Linked DNA regions of Homo sapiens: all the other regions are linked to region 4. Evidence: promoter capture Hi-C in 16 types of primary human blood cells and fetal thymus (Javierre and others, 2016). All regions are on one chromosome and are shown on one strand. Each heading gives the region's core, a stretch centred on a gene start or on the middle of the fragment in contact. The rest is flanking DNA. Distances are from core to core; before and after follow the strand shown.

What was found. Contacts are between HindIII fragments. The CHiCAGO score rates a contact against its expected background, and 5 or more counts as called.
Region 1: a contact is called between a fragment that was not itself captured here and the fragment with the promoter of ZNF672 in region 4, in 5 of 17 cell types (neutrophils, monocytes, M0 macrophages and 2 more). The highest score is 9.2, in neutrophils.
Region 2: a contact is called between a fragment that was not itself captured here and the fragment with the promoter of ZNF672 in region 4, in 1 of 17 cell types (naive B cells). The highest score is 5.6, in naive B cells.
Region 3: a fragment that was not itself captured here is called in contact with the fragment with the promoter of ZNF672 in region 4 in 2 of 17 cell types (naive B cells and M0 macrophages); the score reaches 6.3 in naive B cells.
Region 5: a fragment that was not itself captured here is called in contact with the fragment with the promoter of ZNF672 in region 4 in 1 of 17 cell types (naive B cells); the score reaches 6.1 in naive B cells.
Region 6: a fragment that was not itself captured here is called in contact with the fragment with the promoter of ZNF672 in region 4 in 1 of 17 cell types (total B cells); the score reaches 5.9 in total B cells.

Annotation. Positions count from the first base shown.
Region 1 is chr1:248,704,622-248,707,746 of GRCh38, forward strand. No RefSeq gene overlaps it. Among named protein-coding and RNA genes, the nearest start is that of OR14I1, 3.4 kb to the left of the region's middle. The HindIII fragment of the contact is 9,630 bases long and covers 1-3,125 here.
Region 2 is chr1:248,608,922-248,611,723 of GRCh38, forward strand. No RefSeq gene overlaps it. Among named protein-coding and RNA genes, the nearest start is that of OR2T10, 13 kb to the left of the region's middle. The HindIII fragment of the contact is 6,444 bases long and covers 1-2,802 here.
Region 3 is chr1:248,627,194-248,630,092 of GRCh38, forward strand. OR2T11 (olfactory receptor family 2 subfamily T member 11) reads right to left here. Exons shown (of 2, transcript NM_001001964.2): 2 at 1-79. Among named protein-coding and RNA genes, the nearest start is that of OR2T11, 6.4 kb to the right of the region's middle. The HindIII fragment of the contact is 2,727 bases long and covers 63-2,789 here.
Region 4 is chr1:248,836,291-248,839,483 of GRCh38, forward strand. ZNF672 (zinc finger protein 672) reads left to right here and starts at 1,934. Exons shown (of 4, transcript NM_024836.3): 1 at 1,934-2,261. RefSeq lists enhancers at 1,868-2,369, 2,370-2,869, 2,567-2,836, 3,177-3,193 and a silencer at 1,877-2,276. The HindIII fragment of the contact is 11,934 bases long and covers 1-3,193 here.
Region 5 is chr1:248,686,161-248,689,306 of GRCh38, forward strand. All of the region lies in intron 3 of OR14I1 (olfactory receptor family 14 subfamily I member 1), which reads right to left. Among named protein-coding and RNA genes, the nearest start is that of OR14I1, 15 kb to the right of the region's middle. RefSeq lists enhancers at 628-827, 2,446-2,495. The HindIII fragment of the contact is 282 bases long and covers 1,554-1,835 here.
Region 6 is chr1:248,668,645-248,671,721 of GRCh38, forward strand. No RefSeq gene overlaps it. Among named protein-coding and RNA genes, the nearest start is that of OR2T27, 15 kb to the left of the region's middle. The HindIII fragment of the contact is 4,700 bases long and covers 1-3,077 here.

The DNA.
Region 1 (3,125 bases), core at 10-2,509, 130 kb before region 4:
CATCTGCTCTGCTACTTGAGAAAATGGAGAGCAGGTTCTTTTAACTCAAGGTACTGTTGATCCTGGGAGGGCAAGGAGCAAGGAGCAAGGAGCCAGCAAGTCTAGACACATTCCAGAGCTGCGAGCCCTGGATTCTGTCCAAGCCATGAGGGATTTTATGCCCTGGGCTTAGATTATGGTGCATCAGGGTAGCCTTCCACCCATTAGCACAGAGCTTGGTGTTCCAAAGACCACAAGGGGATTTAGACCCTGAACCCTGGACATGTTCCAGAGCTCTTTTACGTTATGTCAGATATGCAAGCCCCACCTCAGCTTCTCCCAACACTCAGCTTTTCCCAACACAGAGGAAGAAATCTGATATGCATTTGTCTCAGGTGGGCAGAAGAATGACTTTGAATTCTGCCCTTTGTCCCATACCTGTGAAGATACACTATCAATTTACATTTTCAGGCTAAAATTCAGCAGAACTATTTTAGGGTAAAGGAATTTCCTAATGTACAAATTGTGAAGGAGGTATGTAGCTTTTCTTTTCTTTTTTTTTTTTAATCTTTGAGGTTATCTTATTTAGGAATAAAATGGGAAACAAATTTCCCTGATGCAGTTCCCAGCTTGACTTTTCGCTTTTGCTTAGTGAGCCCGGAGTCCTGAGATTTATTTTCCTTTCACAGTTCCCATGTCAAAGTTGGACATGGATTTGCTGGAGTGGAGGCAAGAGGCACAGATACCAAAGGACCTTTGGGGCTGAGTGTTGGATGGGTCATCTACACAGATTTGAAAGGGGGCAGGCCTGGGGTTGGGAGAGCACCATGCTTTTGTCTTAGAGACCTGACCTCTGAGAAGGATCGTCATTGACCCGAACTGGGGTCTGCCCACCCAGCTGGTAAGACCAGATATATACACTGAGGTTTGCAGCAGTAAAAAGGAAGGCAGTTATTTGCAGAGCACCAAGCAAGGAGGACCAGGAAGCTAATGCTTAAATCCTGACCTCTGAGGTGGCTTGCAGGTAATGGTTTTTAAAAGCGGGGTAGGCCAGCGCGGTGGCTCACGCCTGTAATCCCAGCACTTTGGGAGGCCAAGGTGGGCAGATCAGCTGAGGCCGGGAGTTCAAGACCAGCCTGACCACCATGGAGATACCCCATCCTTACTAAAAATACAAAATCAGCTGGGTGTGGTGGCAGAGCCAGCTGTGGTGGCGGCGCCTGCAATCCCAGCTACTCAGGAGGAGGCTGAGGCAGGAAATCACTTGAACCTGGGAGGTGGAGGTTGCAGTGAGCAGAGATCGCACCATTGAGGCGGACGTTGCGGTGAGCCGGGGTCATATCATTGCACTCCACCCTGGGCAACAAGAGCGAAACACCATTAAAAAAAAAAGAAAAAAAAAAGCAGGGGTAAATTTCAGGAAAGCTACAGGCAAAGTTGTAAATCAATCCTGGAGGTTACACATTGGTTTTGACCTAAACGGGTGGGATATCTTGAAGTGGGGCTTACAGGTCGGGGTAGATTCTAAGATTTTCTGATTTGCAATGGTTAAAGAGTTTTGTTTAAAAATCAAACAAAAAAGAATATTAGTGCTGGCTCATGGGTATGACCTTCTCCAGGCCCCTCAGAAAGAAATTTCTAATGGCAATCACAGTTCAGTCCTTAGTTCTCCCTTATCTGAGGTCTGTGTGTCTGCAGTTCCATTTTGTGGGGCTCCAGGTTTCTGAAAACTAGCTCAGGAACATATGTTAAGATATTATCTTTAATTTCTATGGGGAGCCAAACATCTTCTGGCTCTAGTTTCTTTGGCTATTGTTTTAAACTACTATTACCTTCTTGCTTATCAAATTGTTCATTTACTTTTCTAAGCTAGCTAGGTGCCTGGAATTTTCCTTGAAGGTACTCAAGAATTTCTTTTATGTCCATGCCTGGGGGACCCAGAGACCCCTAAGAGGGGTCCCTGCTCTGTCTCAGGATCCAAGAGCCAGAGCAATGAGGAGCCAGAAATTAGCTGCGGTCATCAGCCTCTGTCTGTGGAAAGCGAAGAACAGCCTCTACCTGAGATTACGACAGGGAAAATCGTTCCTCCCTTCATCTTTAAGCCCCTCAAGCACGCTGCATTATGTTCAGTTACCTGGAGCAATGGTCTACATTATATTTCGTACTCTTTTCTGCAGGAGGCAACAGAAGATTGGTTCTGCATTTTTGTCAAATTTCTTGTAGGGCCAAGCGCAGTGTGGCTCACACCTGTTATCCCAATGCTTTGGGAAGCCGAGGCAGGAGGATCACTTGAGGCCAGGAGTTTGAGACCAGCCTGGGCAACATAGACACCCTGTCTCTACCAAAAACATAAAAATAAAAAATTAGTCAGGCATCATGGCGTGTGCCTGAAATCCTAGCTACTTGGGAGACTGAAACAGGAGGATCGTTTGAGCCCAGGAATTTGAGTTTACAGTAAGCTATGATTGTACCACTGCACCCCAGCCTAAGCAACAGAATGAGACCCTGTCTTTAAAAAAAAAAAAAATCTAGTAGGACATCATCCATAATGTTCAGAGTTCCATATAAAAAGATTCCTATAATCTCTCTCAAAAGTTTGTTCTGTTGATGATCTAAACTTGCTTTGTGTGTGCTAATTCCCTCTCAAAGACAGCCACAGCCATAAATTAGTTTCCTGGTACAGTGACCCTCCCCTTCACCCATTGTATAACACAGCTTTGTAATATTTTCCTTAGTGTAACAGTTCCAATAGTCCTCATTTATAGATACCTTTTGTTGACAAAAAATATATATTTGAAGAGATTTTATTCTGAGTCAAATGTGAGGGCCATGACTCATGATGCAACTTCAGAAGGTCCTGAGAACACGTGCCCAAGATGCGTGGGTTACAGCTTCATTTTACATATTTTAAGGAGACCTAAGACATCAATCAATACATGTGACATATACATTGGTTCAGTCCTAAATGGTGGGACAACTCAAAACGGGGCTCACGGGTCACAGGTGGCTTCAAAGATTTTCTGATTGGCCGTTGGTTGAAAGAGTTATGTTATTATCTAAAGACCTGGAATCACTAGAAAGGCGTGTCTAGGTTAACATAAGGGGTTGTGGAGACCAAGGTTCTCATTATGTACAGAAAGCCTCAA
Region 2 (2,802 bases), core at 162-2,661, 230 kb before region 4:
TTCTATTTTGCTTTAGCTTTCTTTTTACTTTTGATATATGATGTTGCCTAAAACGAAATATTTAAGTAAATGTATTTCCATTCCTAGCTACCTATGTGTTTTAGGCAGATATGAGTTTTGAAATGTATTTGAAACCTTTTGGATCCTTTATATATGCTACATAGCTTTCATAGGACACCAAGCGACGCAATGTTTTACAGCCTTGTCTTGTATATTCTGTCCTATCCATTGTTACATGTCTGAGACCAAATTTGGCTGTTTTTATCATTTCTCTTAAACATCAGAACCTCATCTCCATCATTTTTCTGTAAACCTTGCTTTGAATTCTTCAGTCTCTCCTATCTTTAGTTATCTAATAACACATGCAATTTAATTCAGACTGATAAAGGATATTGTCTTAAATCTTTCTGCCTCTCTTTTGTCCTTACTGTGCCCCCAGTGACCAGCATAGGAATGGGCACAAAGCAGGCACCTGACTGTGGAGTGAATAAACCAATGCCTGGCAACATTTAGAATTTATAATCGGCAAATCCACTACTTAATTATATTGAGAGGATTAATTTAAAACAATCAACTTGAAAACAGTTAAAATGGTAGCTCAGTTCATTTACTGAAAACAAAGGAAGCATTTTAAACAATTCTCTTGGTCTTCGTAACCTTTCGGGACTAGCCCCCTAATTACCTGCAAGAATAGAAGAGCCCAGGGACCTCCTGAGAAGCCCAGTTTCCTCCGTGTTCCTTATGCTTTTTCCCTTCGTGGAAAAAAGTGATTGCACCTTTCTTTCCATTTCCTAATTCTACATCATGCCTTGTATTTAGCTGGAGACTCACTCAGAGTGGGAGAGCCTGAGAGAAGAGCTGGAGACAAGCAAGGTCTGCAGGGGATTCCAGGGCAGGCCGGCCCATGACCTGGCCAGCCCTGCCATGACCTGCTTTCCCACCCAGGTAAGCTGCTTACACTTCCGAGGTGAAACTATTAGAAAATTAAGAAAAAAAAATTAGACGTGTGTAAATTTAGGAGGCACAACATTTCCCTGGAGTTGAAGGGAACTATACTAAGTTCTACAGAACTTGAGTATTTGAAGATGCTTAAATTATCATTGTGCTCTATTCAGCCACAAGGATCTTGTGCTATAAATTTATCGTAGAATTTGCTGTTAAAACACACCCACACTAAAGAAGCCACCACATTACTCTATTTGTGACTTTTGTTGCAGAAATATTACTATACATTTATTTTTCATATTTCAGCTGTGAATTTTTAAAATCACATTCAAAGGCATGAAGAGTTAGGTAGTGAATTGTTTACTAAAGTGTCATTTTAAAAGAAATTCAAAAGTTTGTTTTACAAGTTTAAACATTTCATGTATACTAATCAGGGTCAGCCTTAATGAAGCTATGGTCTACTTAGAATCGAAACCTGCATATTAAGCTATTAAATGTTACTCAACAAAGTCACTGAAAATTTCTAGTGCCATAATCTGATGAAAACAGAAAAGTTATTTCTCCTCAATAGATTGTCAATGGTTATGGTAAAAAATTAACCAGTGAAATGTGTGGTTCCTTGGCACGACTGCAACACAATTCTGGGAAAATACTACAAGTCTCAAACTTTCCATTGTGATTCACTGAACTAAGGAAGCATTACTCAGTAAATTATTATGAAAATTTAGTAAAAAGTTAGGTGAAACTAGGTCCTGTTATCACATTAATTTAAAATATCAAATCGATTAAAGGTTTACATGTGGAAAATAAAAATATAAAACAAGACACATGAATGGGTAAAGATTTAGCTAAACGGTGAGCAAAGGCAATGAAGAAAACATGGAAAGTAAAATTAGTATTTGAAAACTGAAAACAATCTCTGAATAAAACAAATTTTTTCTAATTAGGAAATTTATGGTTCACATGACGAATCAAAGGCTGAGGATCGGTAATGTGTAAGATTCTCTTGCATATTCATAAGACAGACATGGCAATTTTTAAAATGACACAAACATGTTAGTAAACAATTTGTGGAAGACTTGTACATACAAAATAAGACAATGACAAAAAGCACAAAAATGTCCATTAATTTGTTGAATAACAGAGAGGCAAAAAAATGTGTGATTATCAGTGTTGCTGTGAGTCAGTGAAAACACCAGTGCGGCCTTTTGTGGTATGCCGGGGTAGATCACTGACGGGTACAACCCGAGTATATGAACATGAAAGGGACACTGTTTAATAAAAATGTAATAACCGATACAATAAAGGAATTCCTTACACAGATATTCATTATAGTATTGTTTTAGATTAGTAAAAAATTGGAAGAAATCTACATTGGAAATAAGAAAACTCAGATTCTGTTATTAAGGTAAATTGTGAAGTTATATTCAAAACAATATTTTTAAAAAGTAAACACTGAAAATATGTACACAAGAATATTTATGCAGATGTAGAGCTATATACAGCATGATTCTAATCTATAGTATTTTAATATATCTATGTATCTATATATTAAAAATATCATTTTCTCCCACAAAAAATAAGTATGTGAGATGGATATGTTAATTATCATGACATGGTCATTCCACAATGTGTACATGTATTGAAATATCTCACTGTACCCAAATATATATACAATTGTCAATTAAAAACAATTTTCAAAATCCTATTTTGAAAATTTTTATTCTGACTTGATCATTATACAATGTATATATGTGTCAAAACATCACCCCATACCCCATAAAAATATACAATTGTTATGAGTCGATTAAAAACAAAATAAACTAAAATTTTTACAAAGAAAAAATTTTATAGTAA
Region 3 (2,899 bases), core at 176-2,675, 210 kb before region 4:
CACGGTCAAGATGGGAAAGGTCTGCAGTAGAGGTGACACTTCTGAGGGTACCGTCAGGATGAAGCTTCCAGGCTAGAGGCTAGAGAAGAACAGGCAGACCAACATGCACATCATGAAGCAAAAACCATGGCTGCATTTCCCTGTCAGAGAACAGCTCCTTCTATATTGCGTCTATGGTTCATCATGCTGCTGGAGGTTATGGTAACTGCGTGATACAATTGCTGTATGCTACACCAAGAATGGGGTTTTAACCATATCTGTTCTGTCCATGCTGCATTTCTTGTATCCAGAAAGTTATCCAGCCCATAGTAGGGTTAAGTAAATACTAGTTGGAAAAAAGGGTGATTCATTGACCAAATGGATAAAGGGGAGTGAAGTAAATCACTGAAGAAATGAAGGGTTAGGATAACTATTAGGGAACGTTTTATTCACGAAGCCCCATGTTTCTGTTCTATTTCTTTTTAATTATTTGTATAAGTTTAAGGACGACAAGTGCAGTGTCATGACATGGATGTATCGCATAGTGGAGTCTTGTCTTTTAGGGTAACCGTAAGTCAAATAGCGTAGGTTGTGCTCACATTACTAATTTCTCACCCCTCGCTCCGCTTTCACCCCCTACTCTTCCAAGCCTTCGATGCCTATTATTCCACTGTTTATGTCTAAAGTTGGGACTCCTCACTGTTCTTTGTGCTGTTTTGCTAACCTTTTTGCAGATCTTTCTTCAGATAAATTAGAAGGTAAAAAAAACTATTTGCAAAAAGCTCCCAGAATTAAGTTTTTAAAAAGCAGTTTATGACACTAAGCTGACTCCCTGCATTGCTCTCCATTGCTACTGTAGGTTTGGGAAATGGGCAGGGAAATTAAAGGAAAATGTTGGTAGGTTGAAGCTATGTCAGCAGCAGACACACAGGAGCAGGGTTCACCAAGCTACACGTCTGCCAGCACTTACCAGAACTGAGGCCAGAGCCAAACTCAGGCTTAGAAAGCTACGGAGCAGATACATGGAAATGTGACAGCAACAGGCCACCGTTTAAGAAGGAATTTTATCTTTAACATACCAGGTGGAAGATAGATTTAACTGTTAGACAAGAGAAAGAACCATACATGTAGTAAGAATCGCCCCCCTCTCCCCGCCAGCACCTCCTCCCCGGCATGGTAGGCCTCAGTGGCTTGAGTCTCAAACATTTGTGTAAAAATGAAAGTCCGATCAACGGGGGAGCCCGGATGCTGCAGGGTTTCCCCCCATTCACATGTTGCTAGACACACCTTGGCTCCACTATCTAGTGTTGCCAGATTTAGCAAAGATACAGGATTCTCAGCTATGTTTGACTTTCAGATAATCAAAAAATGTTTTAGTGCAAGTTCATAATGTTCTTAACACCAAAAAAAAGGGTTCACTGTACATCTGAAATTCAAATTTAGCTGGTTGTCCTTTACCATGCTGAAGTCATATCTGGTTTCACAAAGGTACCAGAATTGTTATGACCTTGAAAAGTGACCAGTAGAATCAGTACAAATAGAGTCTAAACAAAAAAGTTATTTACTAACATCAAAATTAAATTGGCTTACTCCCAATTTCCCTCTGATTGATATATTCATATTACTGTGAAAGGGGCTAAGGACTGTGGCCTCCTCTGTCAGGCCTCCCAGAAATACTCCGTGGTCAAAACTCTACTTCAGTGAGTCTTAGCCTCCTGATCCACTCCTGATCGTTTCAATTCTATTCCATTTCCCAAGGATAGTGAACACAAATATTGCCTAAAAATATATTCTGCTAATTCAAAGTCCAAAAATATAAAAGAAACATTCTATATTAGACTCCAAAAACTTCCTAATAGAATTAACCCACACTAAGGAGAAGAGAGCACATCTCTTTGTCATATTAAACAAATTCAAACATTTTATCCAAAATGTATAAAACAGTAAAAACAGGCCAGGTGTGGTGGTTCATGCCTGTAACCCCAGCACTTAGGGAGGCCAGGGCGGAAGGATCACTTGAAGCCAGGAGTTTGAGATGAGCCTGGGTAACAGAGCTCGTCTTTATAAAAAACTAGCCAGGCGTGGTGGTGCACGTCAGTCGTCCCAGCTACTCAGGAGGTCGAGTTGGGAGAATTGCTTGAGGCTAGGAGTTTGAGGTTACAGAGAGCTATGATTGTGCCACTGCACTCCAGCCTGGGTGACAGAGCAAGACCCTGTTTCTAAAAAAGAAATGAATAAGTAAAACTTATTTATTAACAATTAAAAACCTATAATATTTCTCATGTCCATAGCTAGTAGGTGCCTGGCTTAATCCATCATGACACATTTTACCCTGGTTGTTCCACGAACTTTCCCACGATCTCCCTGCTGTCTCATGAATCCCTCCAAGTCTAGTCTCAGCACAACCATCAAAGTCACATCGGGACCCGTGCATCCCGCCACGCCACTTTCTGCTTGAAACCCTGCAGTTGTGCTTTACATCATACATTAAGGCCCATCACGTTCTGAACATTTTGTCTTCTGAAATGATCTCCCGCCGACTCCAGTCTGTCTGTCCCTGGGCTGCAGCGACGGTGGCTTCCTTGTCCTCTGTCCCCACTTTGCAAGAGCCCTGAGCCCAGGCCATTGCCTCTGCTGCTCCCCTTGCCTGGGGCTCCTCCTCCAACCGTGCAAGGCCATCCATCCCCTCATGTACTTCAGGGCTTTGCTCAAAAGCCACCTGCTCAGAGGTCCTATGACTATTTTTCTTCACTTTTCTTAACACCGTCTGACACTACCTTGTGTTTTGTGTCTCTTCAAGCTAGAAAGTAAGCTTCATGTGAATAAGGATTTGTGCCTATTTTGTTAACTGTACTCTCACCATCTAAAGATACGACTGGCACATTGTAAATCTTTGAATAAATCATTTTTAAACACATTC
Region 4 (3,193 bases), core at 684-3,183:
ATTACTGAGCAGGAATGTGATACAATCAGAACTTTGGGGAGATTCATCTGGTAGGTTCACAGCTGTTATCTCCAACGTCTAGAATACTACCTGGCATATAGTAGACCTTCCATAAACATTTTGAGTATTTACAGAACCACATTAAGAGTTGTCATTTATTGATGTAGATGTGTAGAGAAATAAAACCATTTGGATGTGATATTTTTAATTGACAAATATACACATAACTTCATCCTTGAACTTTCTTTCACTACCCTCCATCTTCCTGTTACAATTATCATCCCCCACTGTGATGACTTCCATAACATAGGAAACCTAAATCCAGCTTCCTGTTCTTTCCCCCCATTGTTTGAGTTTTTCCCTCCAAAGCTACACAGAAGAAAGTCATCTAATCCAGTCCTCTTTCACATGAAAGTTTGTTAGAATTTGTGTACAGTCATTATGTGCACAAAAAATGTTTCTCTTTCTAGGTTAAATATCCCCAGCCCCTTTAATTATGTGACCACCCTAGTCACCATCCTCTTCATGTCTCTGGGATTAGCCAAGTGTGTCAGTGTCCTTAAAAACATGACATCAGTACTGAGCAATGAGTCCAGAAATGTCTAAATTAGTACATTTCTCTGGCTTAAAGACTCTGGAAATATCCTCAACTAATCATTCTCTATATAATACTACCTTATCTGTGTATGATTCTTTACAATAAAAATATATATACTTCAAGCGCATTTTCCATGTCTCTCTCAATGTTATCCCTTCCTGGTTCAGGCCCTGATCACTCCAGACCTGCATCCTGTGTCTTGCTTTTCAGCTTTCTTGCCTGCTGCTACCAGATTTGTCTTCCTTAATCCGTGTTGTCATATGCGGGTCAGCAAACACTCATTGATCATCTGTGGCGTGCTGGCCCTCTGCTCATGCTTCAAGGGATCAATTGTTCATGAGTAGGACAAGGCCTGTCCCTTAAGCTATGGGGGAACAGTATTCATCTGACTATAACAACAGTATCAACATGCGGGAGGTTGCGCTGCAGCATAGATATGTCCCCAGGACTGAGGACAGAGAGGGGCATTCTAGCATAGGTTTATGGAGATGGCATTTGACTAAGGTTTTACAAATTAAAACAGAGAAGAGGGTAAGAGTTTTCCAGGCCAAGCATGGCAGGTCGAAGTACACTAATTAGGGGACCCCCTGAGCAGAGCTCAGAAGAGTGGTACTAAGTGACCTCCAAAGGAAGATTACAGCAGTAAAGGACCTTGAGGGCCATCCCTGGGCGTCTGTTCTGATGATATAGGCACACTAAAGGATGGCCAGGTTCCCAAAATGCATTTCCGGAAAGGAATACTAGTAGCATTTCCTAGTAGAAGACATTAGGGTCAACATTTGGACAGGCAGTTCAACCAGGAAGCTCATGGAGAGGCAGCTGGCAAGCCGACCAGGAGTAACCCCTATCCCTGGCATTGCGACTTTGGGCGTATCATTAACTTGTGGGGTCCTTACCTAAAATACAGGATAAATGCTCATATTTCCCCTGGCAGGGTTGTGGTGAGGGTTGAGAGATAATAGCTATCCAGTCTGGCCTCACTTAATAAGAAGGCGCTAACTTAACTACGGGGATGGCTGCCGCGGCCCCGTCCGCGCCGGGCACCGGCTACCGCGCCGGAAGCACCGAAGGGTACACCTGTCTGTGTCCCGCCAGCGGCCGCGGGAAGAGCTGCTGGAAGACTAGACGGTGGACCGCCTAGCTCCCGGGACTCCGCGGCTGGGGGCTGAGGCGCGCGCAGGGATCGGCGCCCTTTCCTCTGATTGGGCGGGACGAGGCCCAGGGGTGGGCCAACAGACAAAGCGGGAGGCAGGAATTGGTTAAGCCAGAAGAGAGGGCGGGGCCTTGGCCCGCGCGGGAGGCGGGAGTGGAGTCCCCCCGCAGGCTTTCTCTTTTAGCCCCGCCTGCTTCCCGGCTCCAGCTGGGGCCGGAGAGGCTGAGTGGTTGGTACGCTGCTCGCTGGCCTCCCAGTCTTCCCAGCAACCGGTGACACTGCCCGCGCCAGACTGACCACTAGCCGACGCGGGCGAGAGGGACAGGAGCGTGACCTCCCCATCCCGAGGGGCCGGACGCTCGGGCGCCTCCCCGCTCCCCCCACTCGGAGGCCGCGCGCGCCGTTAGCCCCTTCCTCGCTCCCCCGCCCCAGTCCCGCAGTCCGGGAGGCGGGGGTCGGCAGCCGGCTGAGTGGGAACCGCGCGGTGTCTGAGGAGGCAGTCGGCGACCGGTGAGGGGACTGAAGGGCAGGGGAGGGCAAGGGTGGCTCGGGGCAGCAGTCCTCAGCTGTGGCTAGTCTTCTCCCATCTGCCTCGGGCGACTGGTGTCTGCGGCGGTCGGGAGCGCCGCCCGGGCTGCGAGTGACGCGGGGATACTGCGGGGCGAGCGATTGGCCGGACACGTCCGCGCGGCCTGCTCCTCCCAGGCCTTCCCCTCCGCCTGTCCTCGCTGGTCCGCCTCGGGTGACCTTTTCGGGGCTGGCGTCACCACGACAAACGTCGCCAGGCTGAGCCGACTTAAGGGGGCAACGGCCGCCACCGGGTTCTGGCAGCGTTAAACGTTCCCCACTACGTTTTTGGTGCCCGGTCTCGCCCTCCAAGTCGGCTGGCGCCACGGGCAAGGGGCTAGGGTAGGCTCGGGGTTGGGAAGGGGCTCGCTCAAAGAAAGTTTGCCCAGCAACTTGTGACGCGCGCCGACTGAGGCGCCCCAGGATTGGCTGCGCTGCTGTGGGCCACGGAAAGCGACCTGTTCAGGTGCCGTGTTCCGCATTCGGCGAATAGTTGTGCTTCGCTCTTAAGTACCAGGCACCAAGTCCCCAGATGAGTAGCCAGCTTCCCTTCTTTCATCTTGGAGCCCACAGTTCGCGCAAGTGGAGCTATGGAAGGCCCATGCTGTGCTGTTCTAATCATGTGAGGGATTCTTAGGGGTTGAGGGGGAAGGACTGAAAACGGCTGCAGACCGTTTAGGATGCCTGGAGTGGAGACAGGAGTTAAGCCCCTTACTCAGAGTCGCTCTTAAGAACTGCCCAGGGCCGGGCACAGTGGCTCATGCCTGTTATCCTAGCACTTTGGGAGGCCAAAGTGGGAGGCTCTCTTGAGCTCGGGAGTTCAAGACCAGCCTGGGCAACATGGTGAGAACCCTCGTCTCTACAAAAAAAATAAT
Region 5 (3,146 bases), core at 445-2,944, 150 kb before region 4:
CTGTCTATTTTAAATTCACACATGTGGTATGATGAGTAATAAGATTAAAAGAGACCTGAATTCTTGTCATGTTCTGACACAGCTGTTTTAAGTTGGGGAACCTACAAATACATTTTAATTTCAATTTACTGAAATGTAAAACTACACTCAACAAGATGGCCTCTGCTGCCCCACCTCTGAGAGCATTTGTATCTAATCTATATGAAGCCTTTTTACTTCAGTGTAGTTTTCTCTGAGTGGCCTGATGCTGAAGAGCTGCCCTTTATCCCACTTATATCAAGCAAAAGAGCAACACTGAGGAACAAAACCAATACACACTGCACCATGAGCTGCTTCCACTCTAGTCTCAAACTAAAAATAGATCTCTCCAAAACTGATTAAAATGATAAAAATTCAAGCAAACTGAATGCACTATTTTGTTTGCTTGTTTCATTGGAAAAAAATATGAAACATAATTACTAAGAGAACAATTAAATCACTTTAAGCAAACATGTCTTGATTTTTTTCTCATAAAAAATTTGAAATGATTGCTTACATAAATCTCATGTAGACAAATTCAATTTCCTTATTGGGTAAATATCTGAGAAATACAAGACCAGCAATACCTTGATTAAATAACATGTAGCTTCTCAATATGTATTCACTGTCTGGACCAATGATGATAAAGAAACAGTTCTGAAGTTTTCCTCTGTGTCTCACCAGAAGAAGTGACCCAATTTAACATGCAAACTCAGTGATAGAGAAAACCTGATGTATAATATATCAAGGAGACAATCTTCTCTGTTAGTTTCCCATAGAGACTGGGCCGCCACAGTCTGGAGGAGATTGGCTTCCAGAAGGAAGCCTGGGGGACGCTGGTCTCAGGAGGATGCTGCCTCCTCTGGGTTAAATTGTAAATTACCTGCTGAAACAGAAAGCAGAATATGGAGTAGGTGCCAACTGAACTCAGAGTCCGTGAGGAAGTGATGAGCATGAGATATAGAGATTTTCATTAAGAGAGTGAGGAGAGTAAACAGTGAAAAAAGTAAAGGATTTATATTTTCACATTTCATAAAATAATCTTCGATAAAGTACAAAACCCAGACATTTAAGTACTCAGAAAATAATAAATTGTTTTACTTCATCACTATGCCTAGTCAGTATGCCACATGAGAGCAGTTAAGTGCGTATACTCAGTTTACTTTGCAGTTACAGCAGCCTGTTTCTGTATTGCACATAGACTCTCAGAAAATTATTGGCTTAATGGAGACAATCATCATGCTTCTCATCTTCCTCCAAATCTATTTGTTCCACAACCAGTCACAGACCAAGAGGATGGGTAGATCTCACTAAATACGATCATTTGAAAATTAGAAGTGAATAGAAAAATCTGGCAGAAATTTAGGAGATATATATTTTATCATTTCATTTTTCAAATGAGGAAAGTGAGTCTTAATATAAAAACTTAAGACAAATTAAACTTAGCAGACTTTATTTGATCAAAGAATGATTCATTATCAGATCGCACTACAGATCAGAAGAAATTCAGAGAGCTCTGCCCAGCAGTGTGAACAAGCTTTTATGGGCCAGACATAGGAGCAAAGTAGAAAAATCACCTGCTTGCCTACAGCTAGACATCCGTCTTGTTTGAACATGGTGTTATTTAATTTTGGCAATACTATAAGGCAGTAGAAAAATATTGCACATATGTACATACATCCAGATATAGATAGACATGTAACAGAAACATTACAAATTTTTAGCCATGTGCCAGGTACAATAATACAAATCTCACTAATTTATTAAAGAATATCTGGATCTAAATTGTTTTTGGCTAATGCCACTTAAATGGCTAAAGCTTCTTACTAATATTTGTGAAAAAGATCATTAATGTTTTTTTATTTGCTCAGTTTCCAAATATCTATTTTTCTTACTTCTACTTCTGATGAGTTATCTACCCTAAACTTGCATTTTAAATAGATACCTATTAAACTCTAGAGAAGACTGTGTAGAAAATTTATATCTCAAAAGCACAGAGCTTGGACTTCCAGCTTAAATGCTTTAATTTGCCCAAACCAAGAAAGAAAGATGTAAAGACCCAGTTAGGGCAAGACAGCTAGGAAAAGCACTTTAAAGGCAAGGCTTCTGTAGATTTAAGCCAACGCTTTCTTCCTTATCAGAGTTTCCAGTGTTCTCTGTCCAGAGAGGTAGACCTTCTTACAAATGGAGATTCCCTTTAGGGATGTAAATTTCTCTTACAAAGAGTCCTCAAAATAAGCAGGTGAAAATAGTTTTTCTGCCAAAAAGTTGTATTTTGGAGATTTATTCTGCTAAATCAGTGGTTTTCCAACCCACCTTCTGTCTTTTAACTAAAATACTAAGTGGGTGGAACCCACTGAAGACTAGAACAAATATTTTGTGTGCCTGACTCACCATGGTTACTTCTAATCTTGCTCTATAATCACAGACTGGTACAACTTTTCTCTCCTGTTTTGTTTTCAAGATTGCAAGACTGAATAATATTTCCCCCCACCCACCAGAAAGAGTTTGGGGCATAGCAAAGATCATGACAACAAGAAAGAATTGGCAGAGTATGTGTTTAGCGGGAAGTTTCATAAGAGGTGTTTCAGTTGACTGCAGGGTTCCCATGGGAGAAGCAGGATTAAAGAGAGAAAACAGAAAAGACTCATTCTTACAAATGTTTTTCTAAATATGATTCAACTGTCAGTCAGATAGCTTCAGGTATGGGGACTTCCACATTTGATTTGAAACTTCCATTTTTTTTCTCTGGGGGATTGGTTGATTATTGCCCAGGGAGTGTAGCCCTTGGGGGCTTTCTCTAGTAGGTAGACAGGCCAGGTCCATCAGATGACTGGTATAGAAATGAAAAATTTCTTATGCAAAGGCCTGACTATTTAAAATACAGGTAAACTTCTTGGGACACGCGGTCCTTTACTTTTGAGGCAACTCCTCTGGGGTTCAAAATAGCTACAAGGAGGTCTTCTCAGTCCCCATAGCTGGCGTATTATAAAGGCATGCACCTCTTTGTCCTTTGTAAAAAGTCTCCCCACTGTGGCCTTTGTAACTTAAAATTACCTTTGGTCAGGTTCACTCATTTTTCTAGAAAAACACATGTTCTGGGTCCATGGTTCTTATACATAAAATAT
Region 6 (3,077 bases), core at 243-2,742, 170 kb before region 4:
AAAAAAAACTTGCAAAGCAAATTCTCAAAGATTGAGAAAAGACAAGGAGATGACCTCCTTTGGGGCACCCCTGGGGGTTTTATGGCACTCTACTTGCAAATGTTTGTGTAAATGTGAAGGTTTGAGAGCATGCTTGGTTTTCTAGTACTCTGGCTGGTTATGTATTATAGTCTGTTCTGGCACATTTTTAAACTGATGGGTAAATTCAGAGCTCAAAGTTGACCTGCAACTATAGAATTAAATATAGCATCTCCTAAATTCTCAATTTCTCTATTTTATTTTTCTGTTTTAAATGTACTGTTGCTTTTCTACTGGTTTTGAGATAAAACCCATTGTTTAAATTAAACCATCTTTTGCAAGCTGGTGAATCTGTATTGCTGTCTTGTGACTAGAGTTCTGAAATAAAACCTATGGGATCTTTGTATCTGTGTATCTATGTTGAGTTGTGTTTATGTTACATGTACATGTATTTTCTTATATGTTGTAACTGCAAGGTATCAAATGGGCTTAAAAATAAAGGATTACTCATAAAGTCCAAATGCTCTTCAAGTTCACATGACAAGTAAATCTTCAATAAATAAGCTGGCTTTATAATTATTAGTAAAATAAAATTTGAAATGCCTTCAGAATTGTCAGCATACATTTTTGTCTGGATTTATTGGTGAAATAGTTTTATATTTAGCGGTGTTTGTATTATAAGGTACCAAACTTTGTCATGAAGGTTATAAAACTTTAAAACCCATCCCTTAATGATCATTGTGTAATTTTTTATAAATAAGACATTTAATACTGTTGATTTATTGAAAATAGGTAAAACCTTAGTGGTTGGCCAAAAAAAAATCAAATAAACATATATTTAACATTTGGTTCTTATGTAGGTAAACACCTGAAATATTCACAGCCTATAAGAATGGTTAGCTGAAAAATAACTTTAATGATGACTAGCTTTGTCTAATATGTCAGTTTTTGTAAGTAACCTAGGAAAACTGTTTTAAAAAATAAATTAGGTAGCTTTAATGGCATAAATGCTTATAAATGAACTTGTCATATAATTTAAAATCTTAAAGTTAAAGTAAATAATACTCATTAAGTGTCTGGATCATTTCTAATTTAAAAAACAGAAAAACATATTTCTAAAATAATATAAAATGGTTCTCATCTATAAAATACTGATATATGACAGACAATTCAAGATTTACTACTTCCTAGGTTTTCACAAAAATTTAAGGTTCTAAGAATAAAAATTCTAGTTAATATATAATTCTGTATTTAGAGAGTACCAAAGTAAATATTTTTATGGAAAAGAAATTATAATAAAGACATAAAAATATGTTCTTATTAAAAGGAAAATAATCTTTGTCAAATTCAAAGGCTATTATACAAATCCAAAGATGTATTTATTTTTAAAAATGGGTAAAAAGTATAATTTTGTATGAGAAAGAGACTTGTATAGTAAATGTAGTTCTAAAATAAAACAACTCATTATTTAAGAGGGAAATTTTGGACAAAACAGAAAGTCCAAGTATGTCATAAATAGTCTGTGTAAGATATGATAAGGTTTATAAAGAGAATTTATGAAAGAAAAGTTTTTGGAGACTAAAGCTACTCTTTCTTAGATGGGAGGCTCAAGTAACTCCATCTTGAATGGTGATCTGCCCTATTGGCTTCTGATTAACTCCAGGGGGGAAGGCCTTTAAGATTTCCAGTTTATTTATTGCTCCTCGTGTAAGAACAGGTACTTATTATAAATCCTGCCCTTAGGTCAAACAACTTTTATGTTATCATACTTCAATTGTCCTACACATGCCTTCTGAATCATTCCTTCCCTATGGCATATAAGTCCTGGGTTTTGGGGTTAATGGCACAGGAATTTGCCATCTCATCTCACTGCTGCCTGAGACACACACATGGCTTCTGTTCATAAGTCCCTATTAATTGTTTCTGCCTAAGAAACTGTATTTATCAGCCTCTATCTTCAGCATCTCAGCTTCCTCCAACTTTGGATAGGTTTGTATAGACCTGCTCATTGTGAAACAATTTTGTATGTGACTAAGTTGTCGATAACTTAAAAAGAATTATTTGTATTAGTGTTTCTAGAGATTGGGATTTAATATTAAAAATACACAAATAGAAAAACTACCTATAGGGTACTATGCTTATTACTTGGAAGATGAAATAATCTGTACACCAATCCCTTGTGACATGCAATTTACCTATATGACACCTACACAAGTACTTCTGAACCTATGTAATTGGATTGTTTGTAATGCAAAGGATAAATGCTTAAGAAGATAAATGCCGCATCCTCCATGATGGGCTTATTTCACACTGCATGCCTGTATCAAAACATCTCATGTATTCCACAAATATATACACCTAACATATACCCACAGAAATTTTGAAAAATAATTTGTGGATTAAAACCAAAATGACACTCTAAAAAAATTAATTTTTTATGTAGCAGTATTCAGATGTGGGGCCTTTAAGAGGTGATTTGGTTGTGAGGCCTCTGCTCTCATAAATGAATTAATTAATTCATGGATTAATGGATTATCATAGAAGTGAGATTAACTTTATAAGAAGAAGAGAGATCTTGGCTAGCACATCAGACTGCTCAGCTCCCTCATCATGTAATGTCCTGTGCCACCTCATGCTCTGCAGGGAATCCACACTGGCAGAAGTGTCCCCACTGGTCCACCTGAGGCTCTGCAGGGAGTCCCCGCTGGCAGAAGGGTCCCCACTGGTCCACCTTAGGTTCTGCAGGGAGTCTGCGCTGGCAGGAGGGTCCCCACTGGTCCGCCTGAGGCTGTGCAGGGAGTCCGTGCTGGCAGGAGGGTCCCCACTGGTCTGCCTGAGGCTCTGCAGGGAGTCCCCGCTGGCAGGAGGGTCCCCACTGGTCTGCCTGAGGCTCTGCAGGGAGTCCACGCTGGCAGGAGGGTCCCCACTGGTCCGGCTTAGGCTCTGCAGGGAGTCCCTGCTGGCAGGAGGGTCCCCACTCATCCACCTGAGGCTCTGCAGGGAGTCCCCGCAGGCAGGAGGGTCCCCACTGGTCCCCCTGATGCTCTGCAGGGAGTCCC